2 separate regions of the Homo sapiens genome follow, and region 1 is linked to region 2. Evidence: promoter capture Hi-C in human tissues and cell types (Jung and others, 2019). All regions are on one chromosome and are shown on one strand. Each heading gives the region's core, a stretch centred on a gene start or on the middle of the fragment in contact. The rest is flanking DNA. Distances are from core to core; before and after follow the strand shown. Region 1 holds the start of MAPK8IP3 (mitogen-activated protein kinase 8 interacting protein 3). Region 2 holds the start of SOX8 (SRY-box transcription factor 8).

Evidence for each region. Contacts are between HindIII fragments. The study calls those that stand out against the background at their distance.
Region 1: the fragment with the promoter of MAPK8IP3 here is called in contact with the fragment with the promoter of SOX8 in region 2 in 1 of the 25 tissues and cell types used here (liver).

What each region holds. Positions count from the first base shown.
Region 1 is chr16:1,703,342-1,707,751 of GRCh38, forward strand. MAPK8IP3 (mitogen-activated protein kinase 8 interacting protein 3) reads left to right here and starts at 2,854. Exons shown (of 32, transcript NM_001318852.2): 1 at 2,854-3,316. The coding sequence starts at 2,999. RefSeq lists silencers at 1,407-1,701, 2,608-2,947, 3,218-3,327, 3,348-3,397 and an enhancer at 2,185-3,049. The HindIII fragment of the contact is 16,634 bases long and covers 23-4,410 here.
Region 2 is chr16:979,721-984,553 of GRCh38, forward strand. SOX8 (SRY-box transcription factor 8) reads left to right here and starts at 2,050. Exons shown (of 3, transcript NM_014587.5): 1 at 2,050-2,624; 2 at 4,008-4,240. The coding sequence starts at 2,203. CEROX1 (cytoplasmic endogenous regulator of oxidative phosphorylation 1) reads right to left here and starts at 1,893. Exons shown (of 3, transcript NR_164343.1): 1 at 1-1,893. It also overlaps a transcript of LMF1 not described here. The HindIII fragment of the contact is 8,118 bases long and covers 1-4,833 here.

The DNA of each region.
Region 1 (4,410 bases), core at 1,604-4,103, 720 kb after region 2:
ATCCAGCACCTTGTTAAAATTTCATTTTAACCAACTTAAAGTAACAAATCTGTGCAATCATGGTAGTGATAATTAATCAATTGAGTTGATGGCCAAGTCTGTTGGCCTCTCCCTGTGGTAGCATTGTTCCTACTGTAGTGTGCTACCTCAGGAATTCAAAGGGCTCAAGTTTCTCAAAGGTATAAAGCAGAAGCTTTAAACATCCCCCAAAATGCAAGCTTGCTCTAACTTGTTCACCAGGAAGAATTATAGATTACATCTGTTTGCCCAGCCTTATCATTTTCACTTTATGGAACCTCACAACTCTCCGTAACCTTTATCGCACGTTATTTGCTGGAGATGGCGCCATGCTCCTTTCATGGATTAGCTGACATTCCTAATAGGCTGGATATTTTAGGCTGTTTTGCAGGCTTAGAAACAGAGATTTGGGGCCAGGCACGGTGGCTCATGCCTGTAATCCCAACACTGGGAGGCTGAGGTGGGTGGATCACCTGAGGTCAGGAGTTTGAGACCGGCCTGACCAGTATGGTGAAACCCCCATCTCTACTAAAAATTACAAAAATTAGCCAGGCGTGGTAGCACATGCCTGTAGTCCCAGCTACTCGGGAGGCTGAGGCAGGAGAATGGCTTGAACACGGGGGGCGGAAGTAACAGTGAGCTGAGATGGTGCCACTGCACTCCAGCCTGGGCCACAGACTGAGACTCCATCTCAGGAAAAAAAAAAAAAGAAAAGAAAAGAAATGGAGATTTGGCAAAATTAAGTCACTTGGGATCCCAGGAAATTGGAATCTGAGGCTGAATGAAACCTCTTAGTGGGATGGTTGAACATGTATACGGCAAATTATGTTGCAAGTGGAAAATGTGAAAAACACAATAGAGCCTGGCATGGTGGCTCACACCTGTCATCTAAGCACTTTGGGAGGCCAAGGGGGAGGATCGCTTGAGGCCAGGAGTTCAAGACCAGCCAGAGTAACAGTGAGACCTCTGTCTCTACAAAAATGTTTTTAAAATTGGCCAAGCAGTGGTGGCTTACACCTGTAGACCCAACTACTTAGGAGGCTGAGGTGGGATCACTTGAGCCTAAGAGTTCAAGTGAGCCCTGATCATGCCAGTGCCTCCAGCCTGAGCAACAGGGTGAGACCCTGCCTCTAAAAACTGAACAACAAAAAAAATCAGTAGGGTGTCAGCTACGGGAGTTACTGTTTCGGTGCAATCAGATTAGGATGAGAGGATCTGAACTGATGAGCATTGCAGTAGGTGAAAGACGGTAAGTGGCCATTTCTATTAGCATTAAATAGTCACTGATGTGGTTTCATCAGGATTCACAATACATGTGTGGCTCCCAAATTGAGTTTCAAAGTCTTGGGTTCATGGTGTCCCCTGCCCAGCAAAATAAAGTGCAAATCTTACGGAGCAACACATTTTAAGTTCAGGCCTCAAGTACTTCCAGAGACAAAAGTCCTGGGGACACTGGCTCAGAATGGGGGAAAGGGGACCCTGGGCCAAGAGTCAACCAGGATGACATGCAGAATCAGACCTGCAAGGGCTGCAGATACTGTAGTTATGAGGCACACCCAACGCTTAAAGATAAATATGTGGTTGGAAGTATAAGAGCCTATTAAAACTGCTAGAATATAAGAAATCAAATAGGACAAAAACAGAATCATTGGCAGGGTGCAGTGGCTCACGCCTGTAATCCCAGCACTTTGGGACGCCGAGGGAGGCGGGTGGATCACTTGAGGTCAGCAGTTCAAGACCAGCCTGGCCAACATGGTGAAACCCCGTCTCTACTAAAAATACAAAAAAATGAGCCGGGCGTTAATAGCGCGTGTCTGTAGTCCCAGCTACTCAGGAGGCTGAGGCAGGAGAATCGCTTGGACCCAGGAGGCGAAGGTTGCAGTGAGCCGAGATCGCGCCATCACACTCCAGCCTGGGCGACAAGAGCGAAACACCGTCTCAAAAAAAAAAAAATCGGTGCAATTAATAACCCAGTGGATGGGTTAAACAGATTGCACGTAGCTGAAAAGTAACCGAAAATCTGGACTGGCGCGGTGGCTCACGCCTGTCATCCCAGCACTCTGGGAGGTCGAGGCGGGCGGATCACTTGAGATCAGAAATTTGAGACCAGCCTGGCCAACATGGCGAAACCCCGTCTCTACTAAAAATACAAAATTAGCTGGTCTGTAATCCCAGCTACTCCGGAGGCTGAGGGAGAAGAATCACTTGAACCCAGAAGGCGGAGCTTGCAGTGAGCCAGGATCGCGCCACCGCACTCCAGCCTGGGCGACAGAGCAAGACTCCATCTCAAAAAAAAAAAAAAAAAAGAAAATCTGAAGCAGTCAGTGCAGTAGGGAGAAGTGGGCGAAAGGAAGGAGGCCACGCTGCTGGGTTTCAGGATGAGATGGGCGTTGAGGGTGCATTCACAGAATCCCGGGAGGAGCCAGCTGAGCGGGGAAGGCATCAGGAGAGGGGAGGCACTGAGCGGGGCGCGGTGCTGTAGGGAACGGAGGCTCATCAGGGCGGCCGGGATTGAGGCGCAGGCGCTGAGCCTTCACCTAAGTCCGCCGAAGTGTGCAGAGCCTGGAGACGGGATCGAGGTCACCGGAAGCCCACGGTTGCGGGGACATGATCAAGCTACAGCGCGCTGGGGGAAGCGACCACTGCCGCCCCGCGGATCCCACCGGCCTGGCCGGGAGCTCCCTCTGCCCGGCTCACCCGCGCTTCCGGCCCGAAGCCCGGCTTCCTCTGACGTCACGGCCCCTGCGCCCCCTGGCGGCGCGGCTGCGGCGGGACGCGCGGGCACCGCCCCCTCCGGCTGGAGGGCGGGACTTCCGGTGAGTGAGTGACGGGCGCAGCCTCGGCAGCGGCGGCGGCGGAGCCCTGAGGCGACAGCAGCTGCGGGAGGCGACGGGCTGCGGCCTGCGGAACCTGAGGCAGCTGGGGAGGGCCGGGCGCGCCGGCCGGATAGCGAGCCGCGCTGGCGGCGGCGGTGGCCGCGATGATGGAGATCCAGATGGACGAGGGCGGCGGCGTGGTGGTGTACCAGGACGACTACTGCTCCGGCTCGGTGATGTCGGAGCGGGTGTCGGGCCTGGCGGGCTCCATCTACCGCGAGTTCGAGCGCCTCATCCACTGCTACGACGAGGAGGTGGTCAAGGAGCTCATGCCGCTGGTGGTGAACGTGCTGGAGAACCTAGACTCGGTGCTCAGCGAGAACCAGGAGCACGAGGTGGAGCTGGAGCTGCTGCGCGAGGACAACGAGCAGCTGCTCACCCAGTACGAGCGTGAGAAGGCGCTGCGCAGGCAGGCGGAGGAGGTGCGTGGGCCGCGGGACCCGCCCGCATCCCCGTCCCGGACCCCCAGCCAGCCCCGGGCCCCGGACCCAACACCCGTCCCGACCCCAGACCCCGCTCCGGCACCCCGGACCGCGGGACCCCTGGACCCCCAGACCCCGCCCCGAGACCCGCCTGGACCCCATATCCCCCGCCCCGGGACTTCCCCACCCCCTCTGCCCGCCGTGAGACACCTCCCTAGAGCACTCCCCCGCCTGCCCCGGGACCCCACCCCGACTCCCGGGGACCCCCTTTTCCGCCCAGGCCTGGGCCCTGGCCCCCTCCTCCGTGCCCCCAGCCCTGAATCTTCAGCCCCAAACCCGATGTGCCTGGCGTCATCCCCGGGGAGCTCAGCTTCAAAGCCAGGCCTCACTCTCCCCTCCCCACCCACCTCTGCATGACAATTGCCTTTGCTTTCGTGCGTGTGTTCAGTCAAAACCGTTTCCCGACCCCAAGTGCTACCTCTGTTGGCTGCCATTCTAAACCCATCTAGAAAAGGAATCTTTTGGTGTTCTTAGGGGGCTGCAGCCGTCTGTGGATGATGTTGGAGACCTTTCCCTTGTCCCTAATCCCGTATTTTGAAGGTCTGTGACACGGGTGAATTGGGTGGTTGATGTAAACACAGAACAAGGCCGCAGGCGGGCTGCTCCTCTGTCAGCAGAAGGAACACTCGAGTTTCTGGAGGTGATGTCTTTGCCCCCTTGGTTCCTTGCTTGGCGAGATTGTTAGCTGATGTAGCCAGGGCTGAGAAACTCCACTCTGGCTTCTGAGGAGTTAACAGTCTGAGTTTGAAGCGTTTAATTCTGTGCTAGGATGTCTCCATAACCTGGAAATCGCTTGTCTGTGAAGCAGTTACAAGAGCCGGGCCCTGTGGGGAGCACCACTTAGCTTCATTCATTCACCGTCAGATACTGAGCTCGGCCTGCCTGTGTGTGGGCCCAGAACCTCGCCCTTTGTCAGAAACAGGTTCAGGGAGGCTGGTTCCCATCCCTGCTTTGCCTCTGTGACCTTGGCCTGTCGCCTGCCTGGGGTTCGATTTTCCATCAAAGGAGTGAATTGCACTAGGCGATCTCCAAGC
Region 2 (4,833 bases), core at 800-3,299:
CTCACCCGGATGGCACTGTGAGCCCGAGTGGGCGATGTCTGCTCTCCCAGGGGCAGGGGGTGGAAGGTGGCACAGTTTGGACCGGACCCCCACCCTCACTGCTTCCACTTAAACCCCCACTTCTGCCTGCCTGCATCCCAGGCCTAACAGATGAGTTCCGCGGGCGCCCCAGGCGATGCTCTGAGGGCCACGGAAGGATGCGGGGACCCCGAGCGGAGGGCAGGGCCTCCAGGGGGAAGAGGCACTGCAGACGGAGGTGTGGGTCTTCCCAGGCAGGTGCCGGAGCCAAGCGAGATGGTGGGACGGGGAAGAGAGGGCAGGCCAGGCTGGCAGCCAGCTCTCCACCTACGATGCGTGGAGCCTCCCAACTCGCGCACTCCGTCTCCCCACCGCTGCTTCCTCTGACCTGGCTGCAGAGATGAGACCGCCCTCCGGGCAGGTGACACGGCCCTTGCTCTTCAGCCTGGAGGCCAATGCTTCCTCCAAAGGCCCTGGCCCCCTCAGCTCCGGGCCTGGCTCCGGTTGTTCCCAATGCAAAGCAGCAAGGGCCCCGGGGTCTGCGGACGGGGGCGGGCGGCCGCTGGGGGCACCAGCTCTCGGCCGGGCCAGAACAGGGGGTAGGAGGCGCGTCCTGTGCGGTCGGTGGCGGCCCCAGGTGGGTGCGGTGCGCTGGCAGGAAGCGGCAGCACGACCCCCGACTTTGCATCTGGACTTTTCTAGTAACGGACCAGCTCCTTCTGCCGACCGGGCCGGGGAGACCGCGTGGCTCAGTGGCTGCAGCGGCCACCGGCCCGGGCGTGGGGGCTTTGAGGGCACCGGCGCGGTAGGTCACCCGGGTTTCGCGGGCCGCAAGCTCGGAGACGCGCGTGTCCCGCGTTGGCTGCCTGACCCGGAATGGCGCAGCCCCTTCGCCTCCAGCGCGCTGGTTGAAAGGATCCGAGCCACCCTCGGGGACGGCCGGGCCGAGGCCACCTCGCGGGGCGGCCTTGGGCGGGGACCCGGACCCGCGGTTGGACGTTCGCCTCGGGGGGGGCAATGTCCCCTCTCCGACCCCGCGGTCCCCACCAGGGCGGCACACCCCGCCCTCTCCCCGCCTCCGCAGGCGCCCAGGGCTCACAGGCTCGGAGCGGCCTCCGCCTCTGCCGGACCACCCAGGGCCGCCCCGCCGGAGGGGCCTCCCCGCCCCCGAGCCCTAGGTCACGCCCGGAAGGCCCGGGGCCCCCGCGTCCGGCCACGCCATCCGCCCGGCGGCCCCAGGGACTCAGCGCCGGGGTCAGCGCAGGCCCCGCCCAGCGCTCCCGCCCCCTCCAGCTGGCCGGCCCCCGGGACCGCGCCCCCGCCCGCGCTCTCCACGCTCGCACTCGTATGGGCAGGGCGGCCCGGGGTCCCCCAGCTCCGAGCCGCGGCCCCTTGAAGCGCGTTACCTGGACGTGCGCTGTCCGCAGACTCTGGACGAGCTGGGCCTGGGCGCTGCGCGGCGGAACCGACCCTGTCCTGGACCGCAGGCAGCAGCTGACCCCGCGCCACCGGCCTGCGGGCGAGACCTCAGGCGCGAGACGGGCTGTGTGTGTGTGTGTGTGTGTGAGAGAGAGAGAGAGAGAGAGAGAGAGAGAGAGAGAGAGAGAGAGTGTGTGTGTGTGTGTGTGTGTGTGTGTGTGTGTGTGTGTGTGTCGGGGGAGGGGCCCGAGGACCCGCTTCCTAGCTGAGCGTCAGGACGGGGGGCGGACTCTCAGGAGCCGCGCGGCGCCCGCAGAGGAGAGGAAGCGCCGGAGACCCCCCTGCTCCCACCCGGCCTCCCTGCCCCGCTTCCTTTCCCGGGGCTCCAGAGAGGGGAGCTCCAGGCGTGGGGCGCCTGGCCCACGTGGTGCGGCGCCGGGCGGGGCAGGCGGGGGCGCGGCGAGAGCCGCGGAGCTTTCTTTATGGGTGGGGGGGCGGGGGCGGCCGGGCTCCGCCTCCGGGGGATCGGGGCGCGCTCCGCCAATGGGTAGCCGGGCGCGGGGCGGGGCCGCGGGGCCGCCGCTTAAAGAAACTTGTTGCGGGTCCCGCAGCGGGACCCGAGCCTCGGCGGCGGCGGCGGCGGCGGCAGGGGCGAGGGTCGGGGCCACCGCGCGGCGACCTCGGGTCCCGGAGCGACCGCAGGGCAGCCCCGGGCGCCGGCCCCGGTGCGCGTCTCCTGTGCGCGCCCCTCCGCGCGCGGCCCCGATGCTGGACATGAGCGAGGCCCGCTCCCAGCCGCCCTGCAGCCCGTCCGGCACCGCCAGCTCCATGTCGCACGTGGAGGACTCGGACTCGGACGCGCCGCCGTCTCCCGCCGGCTCCGAGGGCCTGGGCCGCGCGGGGGTCGCGGTGGGGGGCGCCCGGGGCGACCCGGCGGAGGCGGCGGACGAGCGCTTCCCGGCCTGCATCCGCGACGCCGTGTCGCAGGTGCTCAAGGGCTACGACTGGAGTCTGGTGCCCATGCCGGTGCGCGGCGGCGGCGGCGGCGCGCTCAAAGCCAAGCCGCATGTGAAGCGGCCCATGAACGCATTCATGGTGTGGGCGCAGGCGGCGCGCCGCAAGCTGGCCGACCAGTACCCGCACCTGCACAACGCCGAGCTCAGCAAGACGCTGGGCAAGCTGTGGCGGTGAGTGCCGGCGCCCCGGGGGCGGGGTTCGGGACCTTGGCCGCCCCTGGTCTCGGACTGCGAGCGGGGGCCTGGAGGGCGCAGAGCTCGCGGAGGTGGTGGCCACACGCAGGCTCCGGGCTCTGCACCCCGGGCGGGTGTCAGGGCGGGTCCCAGTGGAAAAACATCCTCTGGCCAGCCGGGGTCCGGCGCCAGCTATGGGAGTCGGGATCCGCGGAGGGCAGCGCCTGGGGTGTGCACCCTCGTGGCGGGTGCGCTCTGGAGCCAGTTCTCCTGGCGGGGAACACCCTGCGGAGGGCCATGGCTGGCACCCCGACGTGCCCTCCAGCCGTTGCGAGTGGCCCCAGCCCCGGGAGGCACGCCCGGCACGACAGCAAGTTGCATGCGGCTCTCTGGAGGTGCTCCCTCCTTAGAAAGGGCTCAGCTCCTCTAGCTCCTGGACCACCCATGGGGAGGGAGTGCGGCAGGCGGATGGGTGGGCAGCAGGTTTGCCTGCGAGTACCCTCCCCGCAGTTTCTCCCTCTCCTGGACACCCTCGGTCCGAAGCAGGGAGGGCAGGAGTGGAGATGACGGGGTGCGCCGTGTGCACGCCTTGGCGTGGTGGGGCCGGTCAGTTTTCCAGAAATTAGGACTGCAGAGTGAAGAACTTGTTGCTCAGGACAGGCCGCCCCCACCGAGTGTCCTCTGGTTGGGTTTCAAATGGTTCTCTTGGTTTGGGGCTCTGGTTCCCGTATCCTGCTCCTCACCTGGAAGAAGGGAGCTTGGAGCTTGCGTATTTGCACCTCCTGCCTTCTGTCTGGATCTAGGGCGCAGCCACGGGGCGCTGTGGACGGCAGGCCCCTGCTCCCCCAAGTCCTGCCGCACAGGCGGTTGGAGGTGAGCCTCGGGAAGAGTCCCAAGGAGTGTGTCCTGTGGCTCAGTGAGGACGGGCGCCTGGGCCCTGCCAGGGCTTCTGGGTGTCTGGGAATGGAGGGACAGCAGCCCAGCTGCCCGCCGAAGGCCGGCACCGTTCCCGGGAAGCCTCGCTTTTGTCCACCGCCGGCTGGGTCCTGCCCGCCTCCCCCGCCTCCCTTAGAAAGCCCCAGAGGGAGGGAACAGCAGGCCCGGAATAGGGGGAAATAGAAGGAGGAAGATGGGAGGCGTGGGGCTTGTTCTTCTTTGGCTGTCGTAAGCATACCAACCTTCCCAAACAGGCGCCGGCCGGTTCTCCCAGAGGAGTGTACTGCCTGGTGCCACGGGAGGCTCCGGAGCGCACGGCAGGCGGGTTTCCCTGGTCAGAGCCTCCTGGCCCCGGCCTCTGCTGCCGGTTCCCCCTGTGGTGTGTGCCTGCGCCGAGGGCACAGTGGGCGCCCTGGCCATCCCTGCCTCTGCCCTGTGCTGCAGCTTGCTGAGCGAGAGCGAGAAGCGGCCCTTCGTGGAGGAGGCAGAGCGCCTTCGCGTGCAGCACAAGAAGGACCACCCCGACTACAAGTACCAGCCACGGCGCAGGAAGAGCGCCAAAGCCGGCCACAGCGACTCCGACTCGGGCGCGGAGCTGGGACCCCACCCTGGCGGCGGTGCCGTGTACAAGGCTGAAGCAGGGCTTGGAGATGGGCACCACCATGGCGACCACACAGGTGGGCTCCAGGCCCCCCGCATATCTGAGGGTCCCTGTATGGGAGGCAGCTGTGGGGTTTCTGGCTGAGAAGGGTGCATGATGGTGGAGGGGGGCAGGCGCCCTCGAGAGAACCGGGCCTTCCCCGGGTTCCCTGAAAAAGCTCCCAAGGCCCCGGCCGCCCCTGTTTTTGGTGCACGAGGGACCTGCTTAGCCACCTTGAGTGCTGAGGGGCTGACAGCTTTGCTTGGCAGGGACCCCGAGAGGTGGTGTTTTCAGCAAGACTCAGTCCAATGCGGGCTCCTCTTCCCACACCGAGCTGCTGCCCACACGGCACTCAGCAGCCCCAGCTTCAGGGCCAGACTGACAGGGTGGAGTCCTGCCGGGGCCTCGGTCAGGCTGGCTGACGCCCGCCAGCCTCAGAGTGCTTGGCTGGCCCGGGGAGGAACAGGGTCTGTGTGGTCCCCCAGCGCCCTGTAAACCCCAGCTCTGGCCAGGCTGGGCCTGTCGGCTTCTTCCCCCCACCTTGGTCTCTGGGAGGGGCCTCGGGTCTTCTCATAGCACAGCGCTTCATGGAATTTTCTCGGCCGAGGAGTGAGGTCTAGGTCTGACTTT